Regions from separate parts of the Homo sapiens genome. Here regions 1 and 3 are each linked to region 2. Evidence: promoter capture Hi-C in 16 types of primary human blood cells and fetal thymus (Javierre and others, 2016). All regions are on one chromosome and are shown on one strand. Each heading gives the region's core, a stretch centred on a gene start or on the middle of the fragment in contact. The rest is flanking DNA. Distances are from core to core; before and after follow the strand shown. Region 1 has its middle 19 kb from the start of DNAJB9. Region 2 holds the start of TMEM168 (transmembrane protein 168). Region 3 overlaps PNPLA8 (patatin like domain 8, phospholipase A2).

Evidence for each region. The method cuts DNA at HindIII sites, captures the fragments that hold promoters and counts their contacts. A CHiCAGO score of 5 or more calls a contact.
Region 1: a fragment that was not itself captured here is called in contact with the fragment with the promoter of TMEM168 in region 2 in 2 of 17 cell types (activated CD4 T cells and total CD4 T cells); the score reaches 5.7 in activated CD4 T cells.
Region 3: a contact is called between a fragment that was not itself captured here and the fragment with the promoter of TMEM168 in region 2, in 1 of 17 cell types (total B cells). The highest score is 7.6, in total B cells.

The regions. Positions count from the first base shown.
Region 1 is chr7:108,586,859-108,590,779 of GRCh38, forward strand. No RefSeq gene overlaps it. Among named protein-coding and RNA genes, the nearest start is that of DNAJB9, 19 kb to the left of the region's middle. The HindIII fragment of the contact is 6,518 bases long and covers 1-3,921 here.
Region 2 is chr7:112,788,048-112,792,002 of GRCh38, forward strand. TMEM168 (transmembrane protein 168) reads right to left here and starts at 2,346. Exons shown (of 5, transcript NM_022484.6): 1 at 2,113-2,346. RefSeq lists an enhancer at 2,605-2,734. The HindIII fragment of the contact is 5,754 bases long and covers 1-3,467 here.
Region 3 is chr7:108,511,440-108,514,961 of GRCh38, forward strand. PNPLA8 (patatin like domain 8, phospholipase A2) reads right to left here. Exons shown (of 11, transcript NM_001256007.3): 3 at 2,997-3,522; 4 at 2,705-2,854. Among named protein-coding and RNA genes, the nearest start is that of PNPLA8, 13 kb to the right of the region's middle. The HindIII fragment of the contact is 2,356 bases long and covers 797-3,152 here.

The DNA.
Region 1 (3,921 bases), core at 607-3,106, 4.2 Mb before region 2:
TGGATATTCCAACTCTGACCTGCTCCAGCTCAGCTGATTGTAAAGCCATCCTTCCAGTTGTTTAGGTTAAAACCCCAGAGTGATTCTTGATTTCTTTCATGCTCTTAGCACTCACACTCCATAGGCAATCCCACTGGCTTTGCCTTCAATGTATTTTCAGTATCTGACAGCTTCCTTTCAACTCCAATGTTAGTACCAGCATCATCTTTCATAGGGATTATTAGGTAAAAGAAAGTTTTCATTCTCTACCCCTTATTAGTCTGTTATCAAGCCAACAATGAGAGTTATTCTTTTTAAAGGTACATAAGAACTTGTTATCTTTCTGCCTAAAGCCTTCCATTTACTCCCTCCCCATTCCCAGTAAGAGCTAAATCATTTACAATAGTCTATGAAGTCCTACACAATCAGCTTACCTTCCCTTTACCTCACTGATTTTATCTTTGACTGCTTTTCCCCTTTGTATTAGCCAGGGTTCTCTAGAGCAACAGAACTAATAGGGTATATATTATAAATAAGGGGATTATTAAGGAGAATTGACTCACATGATCACAAGGTGAAGTCCCATGATAGTCTGTCTGCAAGGTGAGGAGCAAGGAAGCCAGTGGTGGATCAATCTGTGGCCAAAGGCTCGAGAACCCCTGGCAAACCACTGGTATAAGTCCAAGACTCTTAAAGCTCAAGAACTTGGAGTCTTATGTTCCAGGGCAGGAAGCATCCAGCACAGGAGAAAGATGAAGGCCAGAAGACTCAGCAAGTCTACTCTTCTGTCTTCTCCTGCCTGCTTTATTCTAGCTGCACTGGCAGCTGATTAGATGGTGCCCACCCAGATTGAGGATGGGTCTGCCTCTCCCAGTCCACTGACTCAAATGTTAATCTCCTTTGGCAACACCCTCACAGAACATCCAGGAACAATACTTTGCATCCTTTAATCCAGTCAAGTTGACACTCAATATTAACCATCACACCCTTCTTCATTCTGTACTAGCCAGACAGGAATCCTCACTCTTCCAGGAACACGCCAGGCTTGCTTTCTCTTTAGGGCCTTTGCACTAGCTGGTTCCTCTGTTTGGAGCATTCTTGATTATACAGCCAATCCCTTCAGCTTCTTCCAGTCTTGGCTCACCTGTCACCTCTTCAATGGGGCCTTTCTGGCCACCCTATTTAATACCACACTGTGTCCCTCCTCCCTCACACTCTCCATCCCTTTATCTTACTCTGTTTTTATTTTCACACAGCACTTATCACCTTATTTCATTACTTATTATGTTATTATCTGTTTCCTCCTGATAGAATATAAGCTACTTGGAGGTAGGGATCTTCCACTGCTGTGTCTCAAGTGCCTATATCTGTGACTGGTATAGGGTAAATTTTCCATAACTATTTAGTGAATAAGTAAATTCGACGTCATATGTGTATATCTCATAATTTGATTTTCTGAAAAGTTACAAAATCCTTTACTTATATGATAAACTAGACTCATCTGCATTGGGACATCTTCCTTATACCAAATAAATGATATCTGTTAATAAAGATATTGGGATACAGGTTTAGTCATCCACAAATTTTTTTTAAATTTTTTTTTAAATTTTTTTTTTTTTTTTTTTTTGAGATGGAGTCTCGCACTATAGCCCAGGCTGGAATGCAATGATGTGATCTTGGCTCACTGCAACCTCCACCTCCTGGGTTCAAGTGATTCTCCCGCCTCAGCCTCCTGAGTAGCTGGGATTACAGGTGTGCACCACCACACCTGGGTAATTTTTGTGTTTTTAGTAGAGACAGGGTTTCACCATGTTGGCCAGGCTGGTCTCGAACTCCTGGCCTCAGGTGATCCACCCGCCTTGGCCTCCCAAAGTGCTGGGATTACAGGCGTGAGCCACCGTGCCCACCTCACAATATGTTTTTTTAATCCCAAATGATAACATCTCTTTTTCTATAACTTTTCTATCATTATTTTTCTTCCAGATATTTTAGTGTGAGAAAATAATTTTCTGTTCAAATGCCATTGTCCAAACTGTCAGAGATACTATCTTATAAGGAATTATTATTGGAAGGAAACAAAATCAGTTTATATATCAATACTGGTGGATCTTGAGATACTTAGAAAACTAGGTCACATCCCCTCAGTTATGAGATCAGAGGGGAACTTAAAAGAAAGAAGACTTTTACCTTGTTAGAAAGTTAAAATCAAGTGTGAACTCTTTTTATGTAGACATCTTCTGTGTGAGTTTATTTTTTAAGGACTTTTATTTATCTTTTTTTTTTTTTTAAGAGACAGGGTCAGCCAGGCAGTGGCATGATCACGATCATAGCTCACTGCAATCTTGAACTCCTGGGTTCAAGCCATCCTCCAGCCTCAGCCTGGACTGCAAGGCATATGCCACCACACTTGGCTAATTTTTTAATTTTTATGTTCTTTTTTTTTTTTTTTTTGTAGAGACAGAGTCTCACTATGTTGCCCAGGCTGGTCTTGAATTCCTGGCCTCAAGTAACCCTTGCATCTCCACCTCCCAGAGTGCTGGGATTACAGGCATGAGCCATCATGCCCAGCTGAGGACCTTTAAAAGAGCAACTCCTCCCTGTCTCAATTCCTCTGAGCTGCTTGTATTGGCACAGTGACATGCAATTGAAATTTCATTTTCAAGCCATAATAAATGGTATACTGAAAATTTCCCCTATTTGTTAGTTACAAACAAAACAATTCTGTCTTTTCCTCCACTTCTAGAATATTTTCAAATTGGTCATATAGGAGGTCAAAAGAAATCTCTATGAATTCATGTTTGACAATCTATAAAGTATGTTTCAGCTGGGACTGCTAACAGAAAAGACTGATGTGAACCTGATATCACCAATGGCTACTTTATGGGACCTGAAAAGAGCTTCATAGAGGATTTCAGAGCCATTTAGCCCTAGGTCCAGCTGTGCCTGAAACCATCTTTCCTTGAACACTTCAGTTATATGAGACAAAAAAGTCTCCTTTTCACTTAAGCCAATTTGAATTGAATTCTAGCACTTGCCACTCACATGGACATTTTATCAAGTGTCAAGGGCAACAAGGAGTTACACTGAGTTCCCCCAGAGAAGGAAGGAGAAAGATAGAAGCACAAGGGAAGCTAATGTTTAGATCACAAGATAGAAACTGCTGCCCAGGAGGAGAGAAAAAACCCCTGAGGTTGGAAGAACGCAGGGTGTCTGATTAATGAATGGCAGGGCTATCCTCCCACTCAGCTGCCCTGGAGGATTCCACAGAAATGGCACATGCATGCCTGTGATTTGTTCCTTAAGTGCCTCAGCCTTAAGAGCAGTAGTAATGCCTGTGACCAATCCTGTGGTCAGTGTAGGGTATAGGGCTCCCAAAATATTGTGCCATGGCCTAACAGGGTTATCCAGTTGCCTCAGTGTGCTGTAAATTTTTTTTTCATTTTTACTGTATTCCCTGATGTAAAAAAAGAGATTGGAAAGCACTAGAAGAGGATTGCCATGTGAGGTTTCTATCATAGAGCTTGTAGCAGACAAATCATCATCCCCCAAAGATGTCCATGTCCTAATTCCTAGAACCTGCGAATATGTTGGGTTACCTGGCAAGGGGGAATTAAGGTGGCAGATGGAATTAAGTTTGTTAATCAGATGGCTTCAAAATAAGGAGATTATTCTGGATTATCCATGTGGACCCAGTGTAATCACAAGGGTTTTTAAATGGGAAGGAGGGAGACGGAAGAATTAGAATCTCTGGGAGATGGCATCATCCTGAGAAAGACTGGAGCTGCCCTTGCTGGCTTTGAAGATGGAGGAAGGGGCCACTAACTGGGGAATGCAGCCAGCTTCACGAAGCTGGAAAAGGTAAGAAAATGAATTCTCTCCCATGGTCTCTAGAAAGGAAAATGGGCCTTCCTGACACCTTGACTTTAGACCAGTGAGGCCCAC
Region 2 (3,955 bases), core at 1,096-3,595:
TTAAACAAATTTACATTGTTGACTTCTCTCACCTTCCAAACCATTCCTTTTTGCAGGCATCCAAAGACTAACTCCCCAGATTTTTTTTCTTAATTTATTGGTTTCCCCTCCTCGGTCTCCTTGAAGGTTCTTCATTCTCAACCCATCCTTTGGATGTTCAACCCCAAACCTAGGCTTTTCTCTCACTATATACTTTCTCTAAGCAATGTCATTTATTTCTATGTCTTTGATTATTATCTCTCTACTTAAGTGCACACATATATTAATCTACCTATAGAAAATGAAGCACCAGCTCTGTTCTGCACTGTTAACAGAGGTAAATACCTGGAAACAAAGTAAATGTAAACATGTAAAAAAAAAATTAGTGAAGTACAGTGCATCCATATAATGCAATATATGCAGTTACCTTCCTATGGACCAAAATCAACATGGCAGATTGTTTTTAAATGGCTAATTTACAAAACTCTTCCCCATTCTGATCTTCTTCAAAAGACAGCCTGAGTTAGAGAATAACAGAAAAACATTACATTCCTTTTCAATCGGTTTGCCGTCACTAATGATTCAATGGACAATTATTCCAGAGGTAGATGAAAATGGACCATAGAGGAGTCAATATGCATATGGGAAAAGCTAACCAATCACTGCCAGAGTCTGATTATTTCATAAAACCTTACATACTATTCTAACCCTCCTCTCCACCATCATCTACATTTAATCCTCACCAAGTCCTGTCTACTATTCTTCCTAAACATTTTTTAAATGTTTCTACTTCTCGTCCCCAGGGTCACCATCCCAATTTTGGCCACCATCATGTTGAACATTTCCCTGTATCCACTCTTGCCCTCTCTAAGAAGTGTACTTTTTAAAACCAAAATTTAGCACTCCACTATGTAAAATGCTCCAATGGCGTCCCATCACCCTTAGCAATAAAGTCAAAACTCCTTACAGTGCCTTATAAGGCACTCCGTGTTGGGCCTGAATAACTCTCCTGCCTTATCTGTTACCAGTTTTCCTCTCACACTTTATTTTCCAACCTTACTGACCTTTCAATTACAAACTGCACAAATGCTATTCCCTTGCCAGGTACACTCCTTTTCCTCCTCCTGGCCCCACCCCAGTGCTCACACCTGGCTTATTCCAACTCTTCAGGTCTCAGATAAATCATTTTCTTAAGAGATTATCCCTGCCCCCTCCCCATTACATGACCCCCATACTTTCTCTGTTACATACCATCACTTATTTCATGTCTGCATTTCCCACTAGATCAAAAGGTCTCTGAGGGTTTGTCTTCAATACTGTACACCCAGTGACTAGCAAAAATCCGGCATCAAGAAGGTATTCAATAAATACTTGTTGAAAAATAAAGACTAATAAAGAAATAACTACATTTAACAACAATAGTCACCATTGGACACTTACTAATGCCTAAAGAGAATACAGAACTTAGCTATATCCCACAACTAATAACTAGTAGAACTAAGGGAGAGTCCATGAATGTTTGGTTTCTATTTCAGCTTTCCACCAGTCTTTACTTAATTCACCCAAATTCTTCCAAACCAATTCTCTCTCCATGTCCTACCTCTAGGGAATGGCTTGAGGCATACCGTATCACTTGCATTATCTTTCACTCAGAAACTCTGTCCCATCTAGAAGTGTCAAGGCTGAAAGAACTACACTGAAAAAACAGGGAATTTCAGTGCTTCAGTTCTGAATTACTGATAACTCTTTGAGCCATCTCATACGAGGAAAATGTCATCTAGAATATCAAACTCCTCAGCACTAGAGCAGCAACAGCAATTTCTCTCCCTTTCGGCCTCCTTCTAGCGAGATGTGGGAGGTCCGACAAGGAGCTTGGCTGTTCTCCACCATCCTCTGCCTCGGAGAACGCGACCACAACGTGGCGCCCAGTTGAGGGGGAACCCTTGCGAAATACGGAGAGGCGCTCCCACACCCTCCAATCTCCAACCACCACTGTCAACTCCTCCAGAGGCAGGTATCCTACCCCGGCCCTGGGAGGCCGACTGGGCGGAGCTTGGGGTCCGGACCACGCGGAGCCCTGGCAGTGTCTATGCCTAGATCTCGCCGCCCTGCCGTCCACCCATTTCTCCCTACCTGACTCGGCCGTCGCCACCAACGCGCTCTCCCAACCCTCGGAGTCAGTTCCAAAACCAAACCAAAAAGGAGGAGAGCAGACAAGGCTTCAGCCTGCGACTGAGAACAGGGAGGCGGCACGCCTTGGGGAACGAGGGCCCGAGGCCATACGCGCTAATACAGGCCAGTGTCGGCGTAAACTTTCTCCGTTACCGGCCCGGCCGCGACCGCCATGTTTCCGCCGCCGAAATCCGCGACGGTACGGAACGCCGCCGGGGTCAAACTGCGCGGCGCGCCTCCTTCCCGAGGCCCGGCCCCCTCCCCGCCCAAACCCGCGCGCCGCCACACACTCAGGTGAGCAAGGCGCTGCGCGAGTGTCAACTGCCCCACCTAAGGCGCCTGCCTTCCTCAAGCCAAAGTCGACTCCTGGGACCTGGAATCAGCAGCTGAGAACAGACAGCGGGAAGACCACCAAAGATCAGGCTGACAGTGCCCATCAAGCATCTAGGCCACCGCCTCGGGCTGGACCGAACGGGGACAGGGTGGACAGGACTGCCACGCGTGGGCTGTAAATACTGCGGGAGGCGTTGCTGCTCATTAATATATATGGCATAATATATGGCTTTGTAACCAGCTAAGGCCCAAGCTCCTTAGGCCCTCCCTCAGACCTTTCAGTTCCTCAAATGCAGGGACATGTCGGGTTTTGCTCAACATTAAATCACCTTAGCATAGTGCCTGACACATAGTTGGCACTTAAATATTTGTAAAATAATAATATGCAATAGGCTCTCCACGATCCGTAGTTCTCTCCTCCCACTTGTTTTGCATGTATTATCTATATATTTTTCCTATTTTCCATAATAGAGTGTGAATTTCCTAATTTTCATAATAGATGTTGGGGGTTGGTGTGGCCAGCACATCTATAGGAATGAACAACTCTCAGATTGAGATTCTGCATATGTGGATGAAAATTTTGAGTTAGATTCTCTCTAGACTCCTGATTTTAAAAGCAATCACAACTCAACTTCCCAAATCTGTAACTAGCTCTCTGGGGAACACGAGTGCCACATTTCCAACTACCTGCTAGATGTTTCTACTCAAATATATTGTCATCACTTCCAACTCAACTTGCCTTTAATGGACATTTATATACATTTATTATGCCCCCCATTTGAATCCCCTTCCGTATTTGGAGAATTCCCCACCTGAGTTAAGAGTCTAATGGCTGCCGCTGAAATGCTGAACACTTGTTTAACTAATCATGTGTACCCGCTGGAAGCCATGAGTCAAAAAAGGCACAGAAAGCTACACTCCCAGGTCACCTGTAGGAGTATAGCAAGTGTAGAGATCGAGAACCCATCCCTAACAGCAAGGTAAGCTTCCGAGGCAGTAGTGAGAGTGCTGGCATCCACCATTAACATGTCAGAGATGCAAGATGCCTGTGCTTGGTGAGGGTCACAACCCCAGAGCCCTTTCCCAATCTGTTCTGTAGCCTGTTAACAGTCTCTGTGTACATTTCTGGGTAGCCTGTGACAGACTCTGTACTACATAGCTGTGAGGCAGGACAATAGGGTCTGGAGGCAAGGAACTTACGGCTGATTCATGCTGACTTTCTAGAACTAAATCAAAAGGAAAGCCCCAACTTTCCACAGCTAAGTAACAAAGGGACCCGGCCCCCTCCCCCACCACCGCCCTTTTCTGCGTGGCAGACGGAAAATTGAAAGTACCTCGGATTGGTTGCTTTCCATAACTAATTAAATGTTTGCATAGGGTGTAACCTTTGTAACTTCGCTTCAGGCTCTGATTGGTTGCTTTCCGCTATCAGACTGATTGTGGGCCACTATATTTGCGTGGGGTGTACACC
Region 3 (3,522 bases), core at 725-3,224, 4.3 Mb before region 2:
GCTCTAACAACAAAATGTTTAACTCAATCAAGCCATTATATTTAAATTCCAGTGTTCAGGAAATGAAAAGGAAAGAGGAACACTTCAAATAACACTGAGAAGGAAGAAGGCAGGTACATCCAGAAAGCGAGTCTTTCTGCCTGTTAACCAGCCTAATGTCTTCAATTAAATCAGTTTTAAAGGTGCAGGTGAAGAAGGTGTGGCTGAAGGACTGCGTTATATTTTAAGTGACTTGGAGAAATAGTCAGATGCAATGTGTGATCTAGACTGAACCCTCATTTGGATCTAATCAGTTACATAAATAACATTTTCAAACTGGGTACAGGATAAAGGGACATTTACTGATATAGAAAGGTATACATTATATGCTAAAAAACCAGATTATAAAACAACATATACAGAATGAGTTTATTTTGGTATATATGTGCATAGAATGATTTCTGAAGGAATACTGTGCAGACATTACTAATGTTCACCAATACACTGTTTGCTTCCCCTTCCAAGCATACAGAAGGTTGTACTTTTCAGGCCCATGCAATCGGACAGGATAAACAGATTGTGAGTAGAAGAAACCCGTGGCAACTTCTGCTGAAATATTATTTCCTTGCCACAGAAATCAGAGAGGAAGACTCAATTAAAATACAGACAACAGGACAGGATCTAAGTAACCACCACACGGAGGTTCACTGTGCCAAAGAGTCACCCAAACCCACAGTTAACTTTGCATGAGCCAGAAATAAAACTGTTTTGTTAAGTCACTGAGATTTCGGTGTTGTTTGCTATTAGAGCTTAAGGAAGCTTAATCCAATGAACACAAATAAACTCTAATACATTACAGTGGTAATCTGAGGGTAAAATATATTATTTTTATTTTCTTATCTTTTCTTTCTTCTAATTCCCTACAATGCTTTGTGCTGCCTTCTTTCTAAACAGTCAAAGTTCTTCTTTTTAATTAAAAAACATAATGAAAGGAGACCACCTTCATCACAGTGAAAAAATTATCACAGACAATTCCCTAAATGTGGCTGCCATAAATGTAGCATACAAAATAAGTAACTCATTTTTTTTTAGGGCATTACGTATCAGACATAATTCCCTGTATTTAGCTACCTTAAATATGGTAGACACATAAAAAAGTAAAATTGATACAGATGTTTTATAAAAATTCTATCATTTTTAAAAAGCTCAACTCTTGATAATAACAAAAAGTTTAGCTGGAAAAGTTCACACTAGAGTGTACATGCTGACACGTTATATGCAATTTGTCCAGTTCACTGTTTTTCAGATGATTATTTAAGGGAAGGGTGACAACTTTTTTCAGACTACCTAGATTTTTATTCATAATTGATCTGAATATATATTCCTATATTACATTTTTTCATAGTATTGAAAGGTCCTTAGATTTGGGATTAGTTATGCAAGATAAAAGAGTCCTCAGAGTTTCAATTAGCAAGACTATTTAAACTGCAACTGAAAACTACTCAGAAATCCATCAGTAGTACAACTGGCCTTGTAAAAGAGGTTGAAGTGAGCCACCTTGCCCCTTCTGCCATCTAAGTAGGTCATGAGAAGCTGCTGTCTAGGAGGAACGGGACTCTCACCAGACATCAAATTGTTGGTGCCTTGATTTTGGACTGCCCAGCCTCCAGAACTATGAGAAATAAATTTCTGTTGTTTATAAATTACCCAAGCTAAGGTATTTTATTATGACAGCCCAAATGGACTAAGCCAGTATGTAATTCTATTTAAGATCTTTGCTTTCAGTATATCACTGAAATGTGAAATATACTTAAAAGCATATGTATATTTGAGAATCTTATCTTTTATGTAAGATTATATAAATATAAAATATAATCCCAAATTATAGGACCATAAAATAGTGAAGCTACCTATAATAATGTATGTGTTATACAATACACAAGTAAGGATGGGTACATTATTCAAAGACAATTTTTCAACAAGGTAATTGTTAAAAAGTAGAATAAATGTGTTCTAAGTTAAAACAATTTTCTGAATGCCAAGCTAAAAATAAGCACTAATAGATTTCTAATGAAATGTAAGCAGTATCTATCATTATGATATTTTCAAATTTTTCATTAAATATTACAAATAATCTTAATAATATAGATGTAAAGAGACTCAATCACATTAGTCATATTTTATAGCACTTCTCTGAAAACAGTCCATTTAAGTGGGTCTAAATTATCTTCATTATTTTATAGTTGAAAAAACTGAGGCAAAGAAAAGCTCATTGTTTTACTTAATATGATTACTAATTCAATTATGAGTAAGGTCATTCAAATTTTTAGACTTTCAAATACGAAAGGACCATGAAATAAAAACAACAGCCTCACATATGAATTATGTCTCCTATCTTAAAAGAACAGTTACATAGTATAAATATTTACATTGCACTAAAGAAAAATCTGGCAGCTGTTAGGCAATTCAACTAATAAACTGATTATTTTCTATTTTATAAATGTTTAATTTCAAAGTATACATATTGGTGCTAACAAAATAAAATGAATTGATTAGCATAATGTATGTCACAAAATAAATAGGGTAATTACTGAATACACATCACATGTATAATAAAAACCACAAAATTCAAATGGAAAAATGAAAGGCTTTGCCTTCTCCATTTTAGATTTTTTTTAGTACTTCTATTCCAAGACAAAACTAGATTAAATAAATTAGAAATTACCTTGACAGCCACTCCTTTTCCTTCAGGAAATTCTAGAAGATGAAAAGTCAGTTCTTCAACCCTAGTAATGCAGAGCTTTGGGTCAGTTGTTCTTCTTAATGCCTGAACTAATGCCCGGGTCCTGTTATCAATACTCACCCTTGCGATAATCTACAAAGACATATTAAATAGATATGATTAGAATACAAAACTGCTCTAAAGAACAATGAAAGTTTCTTAGTTCTCATTAGGAAATAAAACTTATAAATTTGACAAAAAGTAATAGAACCGAAAAGCACACTGAACAACTTGCCTTTTCTCGCTGAAGAGATAAACGCTTTTTCTCCTCTGCATTTCTGTCTTTGCTGACAGCCTGATCAGTTTTAGCAGGCTCTTCCTGTTCTTCTGACTGACTCTTTGAATCATACTTTAATTTGGGGACAAGTCCACCAATATAACCACCTACTAAAGCTTGTACACCTTCCGTGGGACGAGAAAGAAAGTTAGCAATACTTTGTTTAGTTGAAACTTGAAGAACATCAGGTATCGCAGAAGGACTTGTAGGCTTGTCCACCGTATGTACAGATTCTGAGCCTGGCTTATAAGCCAGGATGCCAGGATCTGGAGATCTTAATTTCCCCTCTTCTACCTTTTTATCTTCAAGTTCTGATTTGTCCCGGAAATGTTCATTTTCCTTTTGTTGAGACATTTTTTCCTTACGTTTGAAATATGAATTAATATGATTTGATAAAAAGTAGAATGAGTCTCCAAATTTTGTGGTTATAGAACTTGTGTAATGAAAAAGACTGCGTTTACCTATATCTTCTTCTTTGTCTATA